4 separate regions of the Homo sapiens genome follow, and all the other regions are linked to region 4. Evidence: promoter capture Hi-C in 16 types of primary human blood cells and fetal thymus (Javierre and others, 2016). All regions are on one chromosome and are shown on one strand. The core of a region is centred on a gene start or on the middle of the fragment in contact, and the rest is flanking DNA. Distances in the headings are between cores, read along the strand shown. Region 1 has its middle 52 kb from the start of LMTK2. Region 2 has its middle 48 kb from the start of OCM2. Region 3 has its middle 31 kb from the start of OCM2. Region 4 holds the start of BHLHA15 (basic helix-loop-helix family member a15).

Region 1 (5,022 bases), core at 2,174-4,673, 160 kb before region 4:
AACATTCTGCAACATAATTTTAAAAAAATTTAACATAGCACGAGCATTTTCCTTATATCCTTAAATATTACCTAAGTATGATTCTTAATTATCACATGACTATTCAACATAGGGATGTATCCAATAATTTATTTAGCCAATTCTCCATCGCTGGACCCGGGGAAGGTGAGGGTTTCCTTATCTTTTCCTTTTCTAGACAATACTGCGGAGGAAATCCCTTATTGAATGTTTGATATTACTTTAATGTCTTTATGTTCAGGAAAGCCTTCCTCTCTCTAGGATCAGATCAACATTCTCCTAAATATGTTTAGTTCTTTTATGGCTTCATTAAATTTTAAAAAAAAATTTATTTTTATTTTTTAAGAAACAAGGCCTTGCTCTGTTGCCCAGGCTGGAGTGCAGTGGTGCAATCATGGTTCACTGCAGCCTCCAGCTCCTTGGGCTCAAACAATCCTTCTGCCTCAGCCTCCCGATAACTGAGACTACAGACACACATCACCATGCCTGGCTAAGTTTTAACTTTCTTGTAGACACGGAGTCTTGCTATGTTGCCCAGGCTGGTCTTGGACTCCTGGCCTCAATCAATCCTCTCACTTAGGCCTCCCAACACACTAGGATTACAGGCGCGAATCACTGCGTCTGGCCTGGAATTTATTTTGATACCATAAAGTGAGAGTTAAGAAGTCTAATTTTATTCTTGTTCATAATAAGCTAACCAATTGTCCCAGCATCATTTCTTGAAGCAGCCAATCTTTCCTCCTTGGTTTTCTTTTTTTTTTTCTTTCTTTCTTTTTTTTTGATACAGAGTTTCGCTCTTATTGCCCAGGCTGGAGTGCAATGGCATGATCTTGGTTCACTGCAACCTCTGCCTCCCGGGTTTAAGCAATTCTCCTGCCTCAGCCTCCCAAGTAGCTGGGATTATAGACGTGTGCAACCATGCCTGGCTAATTTTTGCATTTTTAGTAGAGATGGAGTTTCACCACTTTGGCCAGGCTGGTCTTGAACTCCTGGCCTCAAGTAAGCCTCCTGCCCTGGCCTCCCAAAGTGTTGGGATTACAGGCGTGAGCCACTACGCCCAGGCAATTTTGTATTTTTAGTAGAGATGGGGTTTCACCATGTTAGCCAGGCTGGTCTTGAACTCCTGGCCTCAAGTGAGCCTCCGGGCTCGGCCTCCCCAAGTGCTGGGATTACGGGGATGAGCTACTAGGCCACCTTCATTGGATTCTAAACTCATCCATGTAACTGGTTCTTTGTTGGGGCTCTTGGCTCTGGCTCCCAAAGACGTGCTGGATTTATATGTGGCAGTGTTGGTCACAAGCCATCAGTTTGTAGAGTCCCATGGAAACTCAACCTCACAGCACTGGCCACACGTGTCAAAAAGGAGTTGCCAAGTCTTAGGCTTTTCTCCAGCCGGTGTTGGCTGTCTTTGCTTCCTTTTTCCCACCATGTAAAATACTATATTTTTGCCAAGCCCCAAATCACGTTGTCCATGATCAGCCACCTCTACCCATGGCCATTTCTATGACTGAGCAATGTCTTAGCACTTATGTATTCAGCCTCCTCATCTGGAGCAGACTGTATTTTTCAAAGATGTCCTCATCAATATATTTATCTATCCTATGTGCTCTTTTTACAAATTGACTGATAGACCTCTCCTGAAAAGTGGAGTCTGTGTGCCCTCTGAACCTTTAATAGGTTCAGACATCTTATTTGGGATGATGAAAGAGTTATGGAAATGGATCACAGTGATGGCTGCACAAATTATTTTTCTTAGTTTTAAAGTTTTGTTTAGAGATAGGATCTTGCTCTGTTGCACAGGCTGGAGTGCCGTGGCGCTATCATAGCTCACTGCAGCCTCAACCTCCCGGGCTCAAGTGATCCTGCCCCCTCAGCCTCCTGAGTAGCTGAGACCACAGGCATGTGCCACCATGCCTGGCTAATTTTTAAAGATCTTTAGTAGAGATCGGATCCCAGGCTGGTCTTGTACTCCTGCCCTCAAGCAATTCTCCTATCTCAGCCTCTCAAAGTGTTGGGATTATAGGTGTGAGTCACTGTGCCTGGCCTTCAACTTTTTTTTAGTGGTGAATAGTAACTTACTAGTATATTGTAAATAATAGAACTAATAAGTGCAGGGCTCTCCTGTACATCAGAGTACCATATACCTACCTTGTGGTTAAAGACCTGGGTTTTGGATTTAGGCAAACTTGCATTCACATTCAGCGCCATATCTGTGCTGATCTTGGTGTGCTCTTGAGCAAGTTACTTGATCTCTCTGGGCCTTGGTTTCCTGAACTGTAAAATGGATAAAACAGAACCCTTGCCAAGAGTTGCTGGAGAATTGAACAAGGTAGGTGCATACTAGATCATGCACAAAAGCTTGGGGCATATTTGGTGCTCTCAAGAAGGGTTGGCTTAGCTGGGCATGGTGGCTCATGCCTATAATCCCAGCACTTTGGGAAGCCAAGACAGGAGGATTGGTTGAGCTCAGGAATTCAGGACCAGCCTGGGCAACAGAGCGAGACCCGATCTCTACAAAAAAATAAAAATAAAAAAAAACTTTTTAAGTTATCCAGGCATGGTGGCATGCACCTGTGGTCCCAGCTACTCAGGAGGCTGATGTAGGAGGATTGATTGAGCGCAGGAATTTGAGGCTGTAGTGAGCCAGGATTGCACCACTGCAATCCAGCCTGGGTGACAGAGCAAGAGTCTGTGGAAAGAAGCAAGAAAGCAAGAAAAAGAAAAGAAAAGAAAGAAAGAAAGGAAGGAAGAGAAAGAGAAAGAAAGAAAGAGAAAGAGGGAGGGAGGGAGGAGAGGAAAGAAAGGAAAGGAAAAAGAAAGAAAAGAAGGAACAAAGGAAGAAGAGAAAGAGAAAGAAAAAGAAACAAACATCAGGTCTATCTCATTTGCTCTTCATAGCAGCTCAATAAAGTAGAAGCATCTTACCATCTCCTTGCTACAAAGGAAGAATAGGACCCTTGGGGAGATGAGGCTACCTTCCTAACAGTGCTTGAGGAGTGAGGGGTTAGAGCCTAGGCTGGCCCCTGTATTAGTTCTCTGGGGCCACCATCACAAGATACCACAGTCCGGGTGGCTTCAGCAACAGAAATGTGTTGTCTCACAATTATTGAGGCCAGAAGCCCACAGTTCAGGTGTTGGCAGGGTTGGTGCCCTTTGGAGCTCTCTCTCCTTGTCTTGTAGATGGCTGTCTTCCTCCTGGGTCTTCATATGTCAGCCTCCGTGTGTGTCTGTGTGCTAATCACTTCTCCTTCTCCTCCACCTCCTCCTTCTTCTTCTCCTTCTTTTTTGAGACAGGGTCTCTCTCTGTCATCCAGGCTGGAGTGCAGTGGCGCCATCTCAGCTCACCACAACCTTCATTTCCCGGGCTCAAGCAATCCTCCTGCCTTGGCCTCCCAAGTAGCTGCGACTACAGGTGTGTGCCACCATGCTTGGCTGATTTTTGTATTTTTAGTAGAGACAGGGTTTCATCAGTTTGGCCAGGCTCATCTTGAACTCCTGGGTTCAAGTGATCCTCCCACCTCGGCCTCCCAGATTGCTGGGATTACTGGTGTGAGCTACCGTGCCTGGCCACTAATCTATTCTCATAAGTACACCAGTCGTACTGGATTAAAGCCCGCCCTGACTGGCTCATTTTTACTTAATCACCATTTTAAAGGCCCCGTCTCCAGATAGAGTCCCATTCGGAGGTATGGGGGTTAGGGTTTCAACGTATGAATTTTGGAGGAACATGATCAGCCCATAACAGCTCCCCTTCTCCTGTTATCTTGGGATTCTAATTCTGAAATAAGAGGAGGTTTAGATTTGCTGGGACCTTGGCCTCGGCTCTGGTTCCAGGGCTATGTCTAGACCACAGGGAAACACCCAGTCAATGAGGCGTGTTCAGAAGGAACAGGACAGCCTCAATAGCTTGTTCCAACGCAAAGCTAGGCCGACCGTCTTTACAGCCACCCTCACAGCCTTGGCAAGACTAGAAAGTACCAGTAAAACCGCATAAAGTGATGCTTGTTCAGACAGGTCCAAGCCAGCAGCACTCACCTTCAGAAGGAGATCTAGGAGAGGGGGAAAAGTATCTGCTGGCTACAAGGAAAGAACAAACCTTCAATTAATGACTCCCTGGGGGTGGCGGGGGTGATGACGGGGGCGGAGATGGCTAGACAGTAATAATTCCCATCCACAGTGGCTGTGAAAATCTTCTGGGATGTCTTGGGGAGGGCTGGGAGCGGGGAGGCAGACAAAAACAACAAAAAATAAATAAGCAGGATGATTTCAAGTGATGATGAGGTCCTGAAGAAAATGAGGCCAGGCCGGGCACTGTGGCTCACACTTGGAATCCCAGCACTTTGGGAGGCCAAGGTGGGAGGATTGCTTGAGCCCAGGAGGTTGAGACCTGCCTGGGCAACATAGTGAGACCCCATCTCTTAAAATAATAATAGTAATAATGGTAGATGAAAATGAAGCTTGGCTGGGCATGGTGGCTCCTGCCCATAATCCCAGCACTTAGGGAGACAGAGGCAGGAGGATTGCTTGAGCCCAGGAACCTGAGACCAGACTGGGCAACATAGTGAGACCCCATCTCTTAAAATAACAATAGTAATAATGGTAGATGAAAATGAAGCTTGGCTGGGCATGGTGGCTCCTGCTTATAATCCCAGCACTTAGGGAGGCAGAGGTGGGAGGATCGCCTGAGCCCAGGACTTCAAACCAGCCTGGGCAACATAGTGAGACCCCATTCTCACGAAACAAGAAAATGAAGGCAGGTGATGGGGAGGAGTGCTACTTTACAATGGATAGTGAGACAGTGTCTCTTGGAGAAAGAGGTGGCTTTTTTTTTTTTTTTTTAGACAAAGTCTCGCTCTGTTGCCAGGCTGGAGTGCAGTGGTGCGATCTCGGCTCATTGCAACCTCTGCCTCACAGGTTCAAGGGATTCTCCTGCCTCAGCCTCCCAAGTAGCTGGGATTACAGGTATGCACTACCAAGCCTAGCTAATTTTTGCATTTTTAGTAG
Region 2 (4,719 bases), core at 737-3,236, 170 kb before region 4:
TGCCATGTTAACCATGTTGAGGCATACAGTTCAATGACATTCAATACTTTCACACTGTGATGTAACCGTCATCCACCTCCATCTTCAGAACTTTTTCATCTTTCCAAACTGAAACCCTGTCCCCATTAAACACTCACTCTCCATCCGCCTCCCCCCACCTCCTGGCACCCGCTGTTCTACTTTCTGCCTTTATAATTTTGAGACTCTAGGTAACTCATATAAGTGGAGTCATTCAGGATTTGTCCGTTTGTGATTGGCTTATTTCACTTAATACAATGTCCTCAAGGTTTATCCATGTTGTAGCGTGTGCCAGGATTTGTTTCCTTTGTAAGCTGAATAATCTTCCATTGTATGGATAGGCCACATTTGGTTTACCCATCCATCCGCTGGTGGACAGTTGGGTTGCATTTATCTTTTTTTTTTTTTTTTTTTTTTTTAGTCAGATTGTCGTTCTGTCACCCAGGCTGGAGTGCAGTGGTGCAATCTCTGCTCACTGCAACCTCCGCCTCCTGAGTTCAAGCGATTCACCTGCCTCAGCCTCCTGAGTAGCTGGGACTTACAGGCACCCACCACCACCATGCCCGGCTAGTTTTTTGTATTTTTAGTAGAGATGGGGTTTCACCGTGTTAGCCAACATGGTCTCGATCTCCTGACCTCGTGATCCGCCTGCCTCGGCCTCCCAAAGTGCTGGGATTACAGGCATGAGCCACTGTACCCGCAGGATTGTATTTATCTTTTAGCTATTGTGAATAATGCTGCTGTGAACATGGGTGTGCAAATAGTTTGAGTTCCTGCTTTCAGTTCTTTGGAATGCTAGCTCATAAGGTAATTCTATGCTGCCCAGGCTGGAGTGCAATGGCACAATCTTGGCTTACTGCAAACTCCACCACCGGGTTCAAGTGATTACCCTGTCTCAGCCTCCTGAGTAGCTGGGATTACAGGCACGTGCCACCACGCTCAGCTAATTTTGTATTTTTAGTAGAGATGGGGATTTCACCATGTTGGCCAGGCTGGTCTTGAACTCCTGACCTCAGGTGATCCGCCTGCCTCAGCCTCGCAAAGTGCTGGGATTACAGGCGTGAGCCACCACACCTGGCCCAAAAAAGTTTTTTTTAGAGACAGGATCTCACTATGTTGCCCAGGCTTGAGTGCAGCTCACTGCAGCCTCCAGCTCCTAGGCTCTAACGATCCTCCTCCTGCAGCCTCCCAGTAGCTGAGACTATAAGTACACACAACCAATTTTTGTATGTTTTTTTTTTTTTTTTTTTTGTAGAGATGGGGGCTCACTATGTTGCCCAAGCTTGTCTCAAACTCCTGGGCTCAAGTGATCCTCCCGCCTTGGCCTCCCAATGTGTTGGCATTATAGGCATGAGCCACTACACCTGGCCCTATTTTTGACTTAATTTTTTGAGGGGCTGTCAAACTATTTTCAACAATGGCTGTGCAATTTTCCATTCCCACCAGCAGTAGGCAAGAGTTCCAATTTCTCCACATCCTCACGAACACTCATTTTCAATTTTTTCTTGAGTGACCATCCTAATGGGTAGAGTGCTCTATCTCACTGTGGTTTTGATTTGCATTTTTCTAATGATTCATAATGGTGAACATCGTTTCATGTACTTATTGGCCATTTGTGTATTTTTGGAGAAATGTCTGTTCAAATCCATTTTTATCAGGTTTAAGAAAAACTGTTGAATTATAGGTGTTCTTTATGCATAATCTGGATATTAACCCCTTATCAGATACATAACCTGTGGGCCAGGCGTGGTGGCTCACGCCTGTAATCGCAGCACTTTGGGAGGCCAAGACAGGCGGATCACTTGAGGTCAGGAGTTCGAGGCCAGCTTGGCCAACATGGTGAAACCCCCCCACCCCGTCTCTATTAAAAATACAAAAATTAGCTGAGGATGGTGATGGGTGCCTGTAATCCCAGCTACTTGGGAGGCTGAGGCACGAGAATCACTTGAACCCTGGTGGCAGAGGTTGCAGTGAGCCGAGATCTCACCACTGCACTCCAGTCTGGGTGACAGAGCGAGACCCTGTCTCAAAGAAAGAATATATTTTTACAAGACATATATATATATATGACTTGTAAATATTGTCTCCCATTCTCCTGGGTTGCCTTTTTGCTATGACGATAGTATCCTTTGATGCACAAAAGTTTTAAATTTTGAGGTAATCCAATTTATCTATTTTTTGCTTCTGTTGTCTGTAGCTGTGCTTAATTTGTAAAAAGCCGTTTACTTGGAAACCACCATGGCTTTCTCCCACAAGCCTTAGAAACATCTCGCTATGCAGATCACTGTGTTTCTGCAGTCAGATCTTCCTTCCAAGTAATTGCTGTGGCTTCTGCCTCCAGTTCATCCCGGGAGATGGCTTTTTTTTAAAGGCCAGGCCATAGAGGCGGGCTTCTGAATGAAGGGGGAGGTTCGTCTGCACCCCACAAGGGGCCCACACAATCCTGAAGTCCCCGAGGTACCCCCTGTTCCAGACAGAATGCTGGCGTGCACCCTAGAAAGCCTCGAAACTGGCTCGTTTTGGCCACTTTTCTCCATTCTGGCACCAGGTCATTTTCTGCTGTAGACAGAATCTATTTTGAGCTGCCTTTTTTTTTTTTTTTTTTTTGGTCTCCTGCTTCATACGTGTGGGTCTCCCGTGGGCTTCACATCTGAGAAGCTTCTTTCTCTTGCCGAAATAGAGCCAGCCACGTGGGGAGAGCGGTTCTTGGGCACAGATGGCACCGTGGGGGAGAGGAGCCTGCTCTGGTTCTCCCACCCGTGCCTGAGGAACGATGCCAGCTTCCTGGCCACCCTTTGGAATCAGAAAGAGCTGGTTACAGAGTTCCTTTTATTTTATTTATTTATTTATTTTTCAGATGGAGTCTTGCTCTGTCACCCAGACTGGAGTGAAATGGTGTGATCTCGGCTCACTGCAACCTCCGCCTCCAGGGTTCAAGCAATTCTCCTGCCTCAGCCTCCGGAGTAGCTGGGATTACAGGCACCTGCCACCACGCCCACCTAATTTTTGTATTTTTAGTAGAGATAGGGTTTCACCATGTTGGCCAGGCTGGTCTCTGACTCCTGACCTCAAGTGATCCACCTGCCTCGGCCTCCCAAATTGCTGTGATTACAGGCCACTGCACCTGGCCCCTTTTATGTTTTTTTAATTAACTTTTTTTTTTTTTGAGACAGAGTCTAGCTCTGTTGTCCAGTGGTGCAATCACAGCTCCCTGCAGCCTTGACCTCCCGGGCTCAAGCAATCCTCTTGCCTCAGCCTCCCAAATAGCTGGGACTACAGGAGCACACCACATGCCCTGCTAATTTTTTTTTTTTTTCTTGAGACAGAGGCTTGCTCTGTTCCCTAGGCTGGAGTGCAGTGACATGATATCGGCTCACCACAACCTCTGCCTCCTGGGTTCAAGCGATTCTCCTGCCTCAGCCTCCCGAGTAGCTGGGACTACAGATGCCCACCACCATGCCTGGCTAATCTTTGTATTTTTAGTAGAGATGGGGTTTCACCATGTTGGTCAGGCTGGTCTCAAACTCCTGACCCCGTGATCCACGCGCCTTGGCCTCCCAAAGTGCTGGGATTACAGGCGTGAGCCACTGTGCCTGGCCCTCTTCTCTTTCTATAAAGGACATCAGTCACTTGATTTAGGGCCCTCCCTTATCCAGTCTGACTTCATCTTAACTTACATCTTAATGACAGCTAACAAGACTGTTTCCAAATAAGGTCACACTCACAGTACCGGGGTTAGGTCTCCACCTTATCTTTTTGGGGACACACAACTCAACTCACAGCAGATAAAGAGCACCCATCTTCCCTAAGAAATTCCCCACTGGCACAAACCCATCTTTCCACGTGATGCCAAGCCATCCTACGACCACGTCCTCATAATTTCTCTATAGGTCAAGGGTGTGTTTCTGTGCACAGTCGTGACAATAGCTTCCATTGATGAGGACCAATTGACTGCCAGGCCCTGGGCTCTAGGTGCAGTGATCTGCCTCCAAGTGAACCTTTATCAGCCAGGTGTGGGGGTGCACATATGTGGTCCCAGCTATGTGGGAGGCTGAGGCGGGAGGATCACTTGAGCCTAGGAAGTTGAGGCTGCAGTGAGTTGTGATCATGCCACTGCATTCCAGCCTGGGCCACACATCAAGACCACGGAGACCCTGTGTAAAAAGAACCTTTATCCACGTTGGATGGTTGAGAAAGCTGAGTGAATAACAAGTGACAGGAGCTGCCTTACCCAAGGCTACCTGGCCACTGAGAGGCAGGGCTGCAGGCTACAGAGTCCTATTTTTCTGTTATGGGGGGTCTGCTTGTTGGGCATTGAGGGAGCAGAGAGAGAGAGAGAAGGCAGGTGGTAGCGAGTGTGGCCATGTGGAAGGGACTCCTTGCCTGATCAAAGGCAGACCCAGGTTGGGTGACTTCTGACGCCCACTTCCTTGAGTCCACCCCAAGATTCGAACCCTAGATCTCCCAAGGAAAGGAGGATGATGGAGGAGGGAGGACTGCCTGGTCAGATGGTGTCCTGGGAGGACTTAGTCTTTCCCTGTCCCCACTCTCCCAAGGAGTACAGCCCAATGGCCAGCCACGGTAACCCTATGATGGCAACCCCCAGACTCCCTGTAGGATGGAAAGATTGACTCCCATCACTGCTGAGAGCACCCCCATCCCCTGCTGGCCCTCTGCAGGTGTTACCTTGGCTGCAGAGAG
Region 3 (5,000 bases), core at 313-2,812, 190 kb before region 4:
TTTTTTTAATTATGGTAAAATATGCATAACATAAAATTTGCCATTTTAGCTATTTTTGAGGGTACAATTCAGTGGCATTTATTACATCAAAAATATTGTGCAACCGGGCTGGGCATGGTGGCTCACGCCTGTAACACCAGCACTTTAGGAGGCTGAGGCAGGCAGGAGGTCAGGAATTCAAGACTAGCCTGGCCAACGTGACAAAACCCCGTTTCTACTAAAAATACAAAAATTAGCTGGGTGTGGTGGTGTGCACCTATAATCCCAGCTACTCAGGGGGCAGAGGCAGGAGAATTGCTTGAACCTGGGAGGCGGAGGTTGTGGTGAGCCGAGGTTGCGCCACCATACTCCAGTTTGGGCAACAGAGCGAGACTCTGTCTCAAAAAAAAGAGAGACAGAGAGAGAAATAAACAAAATATTATGCAACTGTCACCACCATCCATCTCCAGAACTTTTCCATCTTCCCAAACTGAAACTGTCCCCATTAACCCTCACTCTCCATCCCCCTTATCCCCAGGCTCTGATAACCAACATTTTACTTTTTTTCTGTCTCTATCAGTTTGACTATTCTAGGTACATTATATAAGTGGAATCATGCTGTATTTGCCATTTTTTTTTTTTTGGAGTTTTGCTCTTGTTGCCCAAGCTAGAGTGCAGTGGTGCAATCTCGGCTCACTGCAACCTCTGCCTCCTAGGTTCAAGCGATTCTCCTGCCTCAGCCTCCTGAGTAGCTGGGATTACAGGCGCGCACCACCACGCCCGGCTAATTTTTTTGTATTTTTAGTAGAAACGGGGTTTTGCCATGTTAGCCAGGCTGGTCTTGAACTCCTGACCTCAGGTGATCCACCCACCTCAGCCTCCCAAAGTGCATGAGCCACCTCGCCCGGCCTTTTTGTTGTTTTTTTTTGAGACGAGTCTCACTCTGTCATCCAGGCTGGAGTGCAGTGGCACAATCTTGGGTCACTGCAACCTCTGCCTCCTGGGTTCAAGTGATTCTTGTGCTTCAGCCTCCCAAGTAGCTGAGATTACAGGCGTGCGCCGCCATGCCAAGCTAATTTTTTGTATTTTATTAGAGACAGGATTTCACCATGTTGGCCAGGCTGGTCTCAAACTTCTGACCTCAAGTGATCCACTTTCCTCCGCCTCCCAAAGTGCTGGGATTACAGGTGTGAGCCACTGTACCCGGCCATATTTGCCTCTTTGTGACTGACTTATTTCCTCTCCTCCGCTCCCTCCCTTCCTTCCCTTCTTTCTTCTTCTTCTTCTTTTTTTTTTTTTTTTTGAGACAGGGTTTGGCTTTGTCCCACAGGCTGGAGTGCAGTGGCATGATCTCTGCTCACTGCAACCTCTGCCTCCCTGGCTCAAGCAGTCCTCCCACCTCTGCCTCTCTAGAAGCTGGGACTACAGGAATACACCACCACACTTGGCTTTTAAAATTTTTTTGTAGAGATGAGGTCTCACTTTATTGCTCAGGCTGGTCTTGAACTCTTGGGCTCAAGTGATCCTCCTACCTCAGCCTCCCAAAGTGCTGGGATTACAGGTGTGAGCCACAGCGCCCAGCTGTGACTGTCTGATTTCACTGAGCATAATGTCCTCAAGGTTCCTCCATGCAGTAGCAGGTGTCAGCATTTATTTCCTTTTCAGGGCTACATAATATTTCATTGTATGGACAGACACATTTTGTTCATTCATTGGTAGGTGGACTCCTGGGTTGCTTCTACCTCTTGGCTATTGTGAATAATGCTGCAATGAACATGGGTGTACAAATATCTGTTGAGGACGGGTGCAGTGGCTCAGGCCTGTCATCCCAGCACTTTGGGAGGCTGAGGTGGGAGGATTGCTGGAAGCCAGGAGTTTGAGACCAGCCTGGCCAACATAGCAAGACCCCATCTCTACAAAAAATAAAAAAGTTAGCTGGGCATGGTGGGGAATGCCTGTAGTCCCAGCTACTTGAGCGGCTGAGGCAAGAGGATTGCTTTAGCCTGGAGGTTGAGGCCGCAGTGACCTATGATCTTGCCACTGCACTCCAGCCTGGGGGACAGAGTCAGACCCCATCTCAAAAAAAAAAAAAAAAGAGGTTAAAAAATCCCACAAATATCAGCTGGAGTCCCTGCTTTCAATTCTTTGGAGCATCTACCCAGAAGTGGAATTGCTGGATCTACATTTTTTTTTTTTTTTGAGACAGAGTCTTGCTCTGTCACCCAGGCTGGAATGCAATGGCGCGATCTCAGCTCACTGCAACCTCCGTCTCCCAGGTTCAAACAATTCTTATGCCTCAGCCTCCCGAGTAGCTGGGGCTACAGGCGCCCACCACCATGCTTGGCTCATTTTTCTATTTTTAGTAGAGACAGGGTTTCACCATATTGGCCAGGCTGGTCTCGAACTCCTCACCTCAAGTGATCCACCTGGTTCGGCCTCCCCAAGTGCTGGGATTACAGGCGTGAGCCACTGCGCCTGGCCTACCTTTGTTTTTGAAGTGGGTTGGGTGGGCCTGGGTTTCTCAAATCCCAGTATAGCACTGCATAGGATATATCACGGTCCTCAGTTCTCAGAACCTGGGTCTCCTCAGCTGTGAAAAGGGATAGTGATAATAGTGGCAATCACAGGGTTGCTGTGAGAGATACTTAAGATTTTGTAGAAACACCCACGCAGGCTGGGCGTGGTGGCTCACATCTGTAATCCCAGCACTTTGGGAGGCCGAGGTGGGAGGATCACTTGAGCACAGGAGTTCAAGACCAGCCAGGGCAACACAGTGAGATCTCCTCACTACAAAAAATATATATAAATTGGGTGGGCGTGGTGGTGTGCACCTGTAGTCCAATCTACTCGGGAGGCTGAGGTGGGAGGATTGCTTGAGCCTGGGAGGTGGGAGGTCGAGGCTGCAGTGAGCTGTGATTGTGCCCCTGCTTTCTATCCTGGGCAAAAGAATGAGACTCTCAGAAAAAAAAAAGAAAAAGAAATGATGACTTCAAGACCCAAGGAAAATTGCCCGTTAAAATTTTTTAAAATAATCTTTTAAATAAAAAATTTAAAAGAGAAACACCCATGTATCGTGTACATTGAACGGTGCCTGGCACCTGCTCAGCTTTGAATCATTTCTCCCGTGATGTTGCCATCAAATCTCCAGGGAAGGGGAAGCAGGCACCATCACGGCCACCAGGGGGCGCCGCTGCCACAGCTCTGAGTCTCGGCTGGGCCGGGCTGGCATCTCCACCGCCCATCACCTCCCACCATTGTCCCCCTCCGTTTTCAGGCCGGGCCTCCACTTTCTCATGTCACCCACTCTGCTATTACTCCATGCTCCCATCCTTCCTACGTCCTTACTTTCACCCAGGATGAGAAAGTGCCCCACCGTGTCCAGGCCACATCACCTTGTCCCATGACCTATGTCCCTTCCCTCCCCAAGGGAAGCTTCAGCCCATACCTTGCGCCATTTACCCGGCCCAAGGGCTCTCCCTGCGCAGGTAATGACCTTGTCCCTTTTCCCTCTGGATGGTTTCTCTGAAGGTCAGGTGAGGTCATGTGTGGGGAAGTCCCTCAGAGACAAACACTGGGGTCTGGTGCAACAGCTCACCCCTGTAATCCCAACACTTTAGGAGGCCAAGGCAGGAGGATCGTTGGAGGCCAGGAGGAGTTCAAGACCACTCTGGGAAAAATGGCAAGATCCCATCTCTACAAATAACTTAAAAATGAGCCAGGTGTTGAGCATGAACAGCTACTCAGGAGACTGAGGTGGGAGGGTCGTTTGAGGCCAGGAGTTTGAGGCTGCAGTGAGCTATGACTGTGCCACTGCACTCCAGCCTGGGTGACAGAATAAGACCCTTGTCTCAAAAATAAATAAATAAATAAATAGGCAAATAAAAATCAGCCAGGTGGGGTGATGCAAGCCTATAATTGCAGCACTTTGGGAGGCTGAGGCAGGAGGATTGCTCGAGGTCAGGAGTTCAAGACTAGCCTGGGCAACATCTCTACAAAAAAATTTAGAAATGAACCAGATGTGGTGGTGGGCACCTATAGTCCCTGCTACTCAGGAGGCTGAGGTGGGAGGATCACTTGAGGCCAGGAGTTCAAGGCTGCAGTGAGCTATGATTGCACCACTGCACTCCAGCCTGGATCACATAGTGAAACTGTGTCTCTAAAATCAAACCAAACCAAACCAAACCACAGCCCAGAGCTGGTGACAGGGTTGGGACAGCTGCAGTGAGCCTCAGGCCAGGGGCCCATGCCTTCCTCAGGAGCTCTGAGGAGTCCTTCCTGGTCAGAACACACTCCAGGAATTGCACTTTTCCAGCAGGGCTGGAGAGGTGTCCACAGGCCTGAGCAGACCCGCCCCTGGGAGAGAGGCCTGTGGACACCAAGGCCAACTCTAAAGGGGGTAGCTGCATTTGTAGCCCAGCTCCTGGGCACTTACTAGGCCCGAATGCGGGCTCCGCGTGGCCAGAGAATTGGAAAATGCAGAATTTTTTTTCCACAGGAAATCTCCAAATGTTTGAATATTGGCAGTTAGTTACAATTATTTTCAAACTCTTCATGGGCCAGTCAAGGCAATCTACAGCCGGGCTTGGCCTGTGGGTACCATTTTGCAGCCTCTGATGGAAGCTTCTTGAAGACACTGGTCAATGCTAATGGTCAATACCTTGCAGCACTGATCACAGGGATAACCTGAGTTTTAAGCTGCCTGGGTGATCTTTATTTTATTTTTATTATTAATGTTTTAATTTTTTTTTAGGGGCAGGGTCTTGCTCTGTTGCCCAGGCTGCAGTGCAGTGATGTTATCATAGCTCACTGCAGCCTTGACCTCCTGGGCTCAAGCAGTCCTCCCGACTCAGCCTCCTGAGTAGCTGGGACCACAGGCACTTGCAAACGTGCTAGGCTAATTTTTTAATTTTTGGGTGTGTGTGTGGCGGGGGTTGGGTCTCACTGTGTTGTCCAGGCTAGTCTCGAACTCCTGGCCTCAAGTAATCCTCCCTCCTCTGCTTCCCAAAGTGCTGGGATTATAG
Region 4 (4,718 bases), core at 132-2,631:
AGCGGCGAGACCCATGAGTGTGGAGCCCAGGCCTGCCAGCCAGCGTGACACTCACCGCACCCCCAGCAGCGTGCAGTCACCGCACCCCTAGCAGCCCCGAATAGTCCCTGAGCAAGATGCTGCTTTGGCTGGGCGTGGTGGCTCACGCATGTAATCCCAGCACTTTGGGATGCCGAGGCGGGTGGATCACTTGAGGTCAGGAGTTGAAGACCAGCCTGGCCAACGTGGAGAAACCCCGTCTCTACTAAAAATACAAAAATTAGCTGGGCGTGGTGGTGCATGCCTGTAATCCCAGCTACTCGGGAGGCTGAGGCAGGAGAATCGCTTGAACCCGGGAGGCGGAGGTTGCGGTGAGCCGAGATCATCTCGCTCCATTGCACGCCAGCCTGGGCAGCAAGAGCGAAACTCCGTCTCAAAAACAAACAAACAAACAAAACAGGCGTTCCCAAGGACTGCACACCTGCCCAAGGAGCCCCCCACCCCCACCCCAACTCGGGCTCCGCCCCCAGCCCGTAGGAGCCCCAGGTTCCCCTAAACATCCCGGGCGGCGGGGCGGGGGATCCCCTGGGAGATGCCCGCGTTTTCGCGGAGCGGCTCGTCCCGGAGTGCTCCTGGGACTTGGGATCTGTGTGCTGAGCCTGAATCGGGGCTGCCCCTCCTTCCGGCGGCTCCCAGAGACCTGTTTCCCATTGGCGGAATGGGCCCGGGCCCCGCCACGAGTGGAGAGGCCGGGCAAGGAGGATCGCGGGAGGCATGGATGCGGGGGTGCTGTGTCAGGGGGAGGGTCGGGGAAAGCGGGCGGGGGGAGGCTGTCTCGGGCACGGATATGGGGTAGGCGGGTGGGAAAGGCGCGAGTGGAAATTGAGGGGGAGGATGGGGAAAAGCAGGTTGTGGGGAGGCTGTCGGGGGACGGGAGTAGGGGAGGTGGGGACGCAGGCTGTCTTGGGGGGGCTGTAGCGGGAGAATGGGGAGAGACGAATGGGGGGAAGCTATCTCGGGGCGGTTGGGGGGCTGTCGGGGGAGGATGGGGAGAAGCGTGTGGGGGAGGCTGTCTGGGGGAACGAGGGTCGGGGGCTGTCGGGGGATGGTGGGGAGAGGCGGGCGGGGGTGGCTGTCTTGGGGGACGAGGGTGGGGGGCAGTAGGGGGAGGATGGGGAGAGGCGGGCGGGGGAGGTTTTCTATCTTGGGGGCGGGGCGGAAGCTGGGGGCGGGGCTGCGCGGCCACCTGGTCCGGGAGCCCCAGGCGCCGGCCTCCCGCCCGCCCGCCCGCAGGTGCCGCCACTGCTGCCCAGCGCCCGCCGGGACACCCGGACCCCGGCCCCGCCCCGGCCCCGCCCCGAGGGCTCATTTGCATGCGTCCGCGGCCCCTCCCGGGGCGGCTAAAGCGACGTGTCCTTGTCCCCCGTGGGCAGCCTCGGCGCGTGTGGCCGCGGATCCCCAGGTAACCCGGGAGCTGGGAACTCGGGTGGGGCCGCGGGGAGGGGACCCAGGGGCAGGACCTGGCGGTGGGGTTGTGGGGGTTGTGGGGGCTGTGGGGAAACCCGGGTGGGGGACTTCTGGTCTGTCTGGAGGCTCCACGGGGCCCATCCACGTGGTGGGATTGGGGGCTGCCGCCAGGCCCTGGCCATTGCCGACCTCTGACCTCCACGGCTGCCCCATGTCCGCAGCGGTTCTGGCCCCAGTGCTGTCCCATGTCCGCAGCGGTTCTGGCCCCAGTGCTGTCCCTGCACGTGTCACGTCCAGCGGGGCAGGACAGTGAGAGCCTGGTGGCTGGAGTCACTGCCCGCCCACGGGATGAAGTCAGTGCCGCCTCCGGCAGAGGCGCCCCCTAAGCTAGGGTGGGGGACGCATTCTAGGCAAAGTGTCAAAGGTCACCGAGCTCAGGAGGCACTCTGGGGGCAGTGAGGGGCATGAGCCAGAGGAAGATCTAGGGGTCAGGATGAGTCATCCTGGGGGAAGGGGGACGCAGGGACAGGGACAGATTCCAGAGGTCTGTTTGAGGTAAAGCAAGGGCGTGGGTGTGTGTGGGGTCAGCCCAGGGCTAAGCGTGTGAACAGAAGGACCTCCAGTCGCAGAGCGCCAACCCCTGCCCCTGGTACCATTGCTGTCAGCAAGGAGGAGGCTGCCAGGGACGGCACCCCAGCGGGTCCCCTGCCCATGTGGGGTGACCACAGAGTGTCCTGTGTTCTGGATTTCAGCTCCAAGGGCCTCACCTTCCTGCCGCCACCTCCTAGGACAGCCAGTCCAGGGCCATGAAGACCAAGAACCGGCCCCCACGGCGCCGGGCCCCGGTGCAGGACACAGAGGCCACCCCCGGGGAGGGGACGCCCGACGGGTCCCTGCCGAACCCGGGGCCAGAGCCGGCCAAGGGTCTGCGGAGCCGGCCGGCCCGGGCCGCAGCAAGGGCTCCGGGCGAGGGCAGGCGCAGGCGGCCAGGACCCTCCGGGCCCGGTGGCCGTCGTGACAGCAGCATCCAGCGGCGGCTGGAGAGCAACGAGAGGGAGCGGCAGCGGATGCACAAGCTAAATAACGCCTTCCAGGCCCTGCGTGAAGTCATCCCCCACGTGCGCGCGGACAAGAAGCTCTCCAAGATCGAGACGCTCACGCTGGCCAAGAACTACATCAAATCGCTGACGGCCACCATCCTGACCATGTCCAGCAGCCGCCTCCCAGGCCTGGAGGGGCCGGGCCCCAAGCTCTACCAGCACTACCAGCAGCAGCAGCAGGTGGCTGGGGGTGCGTTGGGGGCCACGGAGGCCCAGCCCCAGGGCCACCTGCAGAGGTACTCCACGCAGATCCACAGCTTCCGAGAGGGCACCTAGCGCCCAGTCCTGGGTGGGGGTGGCGGTGGCCGCAGCTGCCTGGCCTGCTCCTCCCAGCCCCAGTCCCTCCAAGCCACGAGCCCCAGATGGGCGGTGACACCCCACAAGGACACGGCCTCAGCGGTTCCATTTTCCCCCGAACATTCAGCCACTTCCCTGGAGCAATTTTTCCTGCCCCGCTGGGGACCAGCGAGTGGCCTAGTTGCGGCTGTGGCCCTGGACAGCGGCGTGAGGCCCAAACCTCTAGGTAGGGCCCAGTTGGATCCTGATTTTTCATTGAGCCAGGCAGTCTCAGCCCGAGTTGAAAGGCCTCCTTAGCCTTGGAACTAACGTCTCTTCACCCTGACTTCTGGGCAAGGGGAGATCCCAGGAAAAGGTTTACCTGCAGGTTTTCCAAGGCCAAAGCCCCAGCAAGGACCCCCTCTCCAACCTTTGTTATAGGGCTACATGGGGCCTGGGCTCAGCATCCTCATTTGGGGTAAACTGAGGCCCGGGACAAGCCCGGCAGAGCCTAAGGCTGCTCGGGGAGTGGGGCCAATCAGAGATGATTGGAGCTGCCAGAAACTCTAATCAGATGACCTCCAATTCATCCTTAAAAGTTGAATGGTGGGGAGGGGCTGGAGTCTCTTCCTCCCTCCTCCCAAGTTGGGGCTCCTGGATGTGTTGACTCCAGGCTGTGCCTGGTTGTGGAGGGTCTGGGGCAGGGTGTGAGGGGTGCTGTGGAACTGGAGCAGGAGACAGGGCTGGGTGTTCCTGGTGCAGCCCTTCTGGGCATGGGAGAGAAGCCCCAAGGCCCTGGGTTGCTCCCCAAGAGCAGCTCTGAGGCCTCCTGCTCAGCCCTGGCCTGTGTGGGGAGCGAGTGTGCCCCCCACCCAGCCCCTGCCACCGCCGTTACTTATTCTCACTGATGTGGGGTTATCATATAATTGGCACCATGCTGTCTGTAGGACATTATGACGTGCTTGGGTTCTGGTTTGAGTTGGCAGCCCGTTGGGTCTCTCTGCCTGGTGGAGCCTTGGGGTGGCAGGTACGTCCCTTCCCCCGCCCAGGTGCTTCATCCTCATGGCCAGGCCTGGTGGCTTGGCACGTCTCTGCTGCCCCAAGCCCAGCTTCCTTCTGCTGGGCGTTCCTGCCCCACTGGCTCTGCCGGACTTGGCTACTGGACTCTCCCCTCCCTCATGCCTCTGCCCAGAGATGTCCCAAAGGCCCTCAGGGCCAAGCCGGGCCAGGGATGTGGCTGCCACAGCTGAGACCAAGGGCTCTGGCTGGCCCGTCCCCACCAGGTGGCCCTGCCCTCCCCAAGTTGGGGGTTGTGGCACTTGGGGTCAGGCCTAGCCACGTAAGGACACAGGTAACACCCTGAGGATCTGGCATTGGCAGCTTCAGGCCTAACTTTCCTGGTCAGGGCCCCTTAAGGTGGCCCGGGCACATTGGTTTCATTTCGATGAGACTTTGTCAGAGGCCTGGTCTGGTCCTGGCCCTACCGCCCCAGCTGTCCTTCAGCACAGCTCGGGGTGGGGACTCCAGGATGCTGGGTCTGCCCCTTGGGAGGGGCACTCTGGAAGGTCAGGGTGATCCACAACTGTGAGCTGAGGTTGGATGCAGCTGGGAGCTTGGGACAGAGAGAGCCCAGGGCTCCCCTGCTGTGGGGCACCTGCCCAGCGGGGACATGAGATGACAGAGACCTCCCCGGCGGGGGTACTCAGGTGCTACGAACATGGCAGCTCTTGTTTCCGGCTGAGCCATGGCCAGAGCAGGGCTCAGTCTGCCCCTGAACTTGCTGAATGGACCGACGAGCTGAGCCTGAAAGCCCAGAAGAGCCTCGGTCCAGAAGACGGAGACTCGGCCCGGTGTCCAGCGCAGCCCAGGGCTTCCTGGGGGGCAGCAGGAGTGCCT

What was found. The method cuts DNA at HindIII sites, captures the fragments that hold promoters and counts their contacts. A CHiCAGO score of 5 or more calls a contact.
Region 1: a contact is called between a fragment that was not itself captured here and the fragment with the promoter of BHLHA15 in region 4, in 1 of 17 cell types (neutrophils). The highest score is 5.1, in neutrophils.
Region 2: a fragment that was not itself captured here is called in contact with the fragment with the promoter of BHLHA15 in region 4 in 1 of 17 cell types (neutrophils); the score reaches 7.0 in neutrophils.
Region 3: a fragment that was not itself captured here is called in contact with the fragment with the promoter of BHLHA15 in region 4 in 15 of 17 cell types (total B cells, M1 macrophages, erythroblasts and 12 more); the score reaches 11.4 in total B cells.

The regions. Positions count from the first base shown.
Region 1 is chr7:98,052,790-98,057,811 of GRCh38, forward strand. No RefSeq gene overlaps it. Among named protein-coding and RNA genes, the nearest start is that of LMTK2, 52 kb to the right of the region's middle. The HindIII fragment of the contact is 2,099 bases long and covers 2,375-4,473 here.
Region 2 is chr7:98,036,211-98,040,929 of GRCh38, forward strand. No RefSeq gene overlaps it. Among named protein-coding and RNA genes, the nearest start is that of OCM2, 48 kb to the left of the region's middle. The HindIII fragment of the contact is 1,376 bases long and covers 1,299-2,674 here.
Region 3 is chr7:98,018,544-98,023,543 of GRCh38, forward strand. No RefSeq gene overlaps it. Among named protein-coding and RNA genes, the nearest start is that of OCM2, 31 kb to the left of the region's middle. RefSeq lists an enhancer at 4,246-4,745. The HindIII fragment of the contact is 3,693 bases long and covers 1-3,409 here.
Region 4 is chr7:98,210,058-98,214,775 of GRCh38, forward strand. BHLHA15 (basic helix-loop-helix family member a15) reads left to right here and starts at 1,382. Exons shown (of 2, transcript NM_177455.4): 1 at 1,382-1,441; 2 at 2,199-4,718. The coding sequence starts at 2,253. The coding sequence ends at 2,822. It overlaps TECPR1 (tectonin beta-propeller repeat containing 1), which reads right to left. Exons shown (of 26, transcript NM_015395.3): 26 at 4,567-4,718. RefSeq lists a silencer at 1,254-1,443. The HindIII fragment of the contact is 21,052 bases long and covers 1-4,718 here.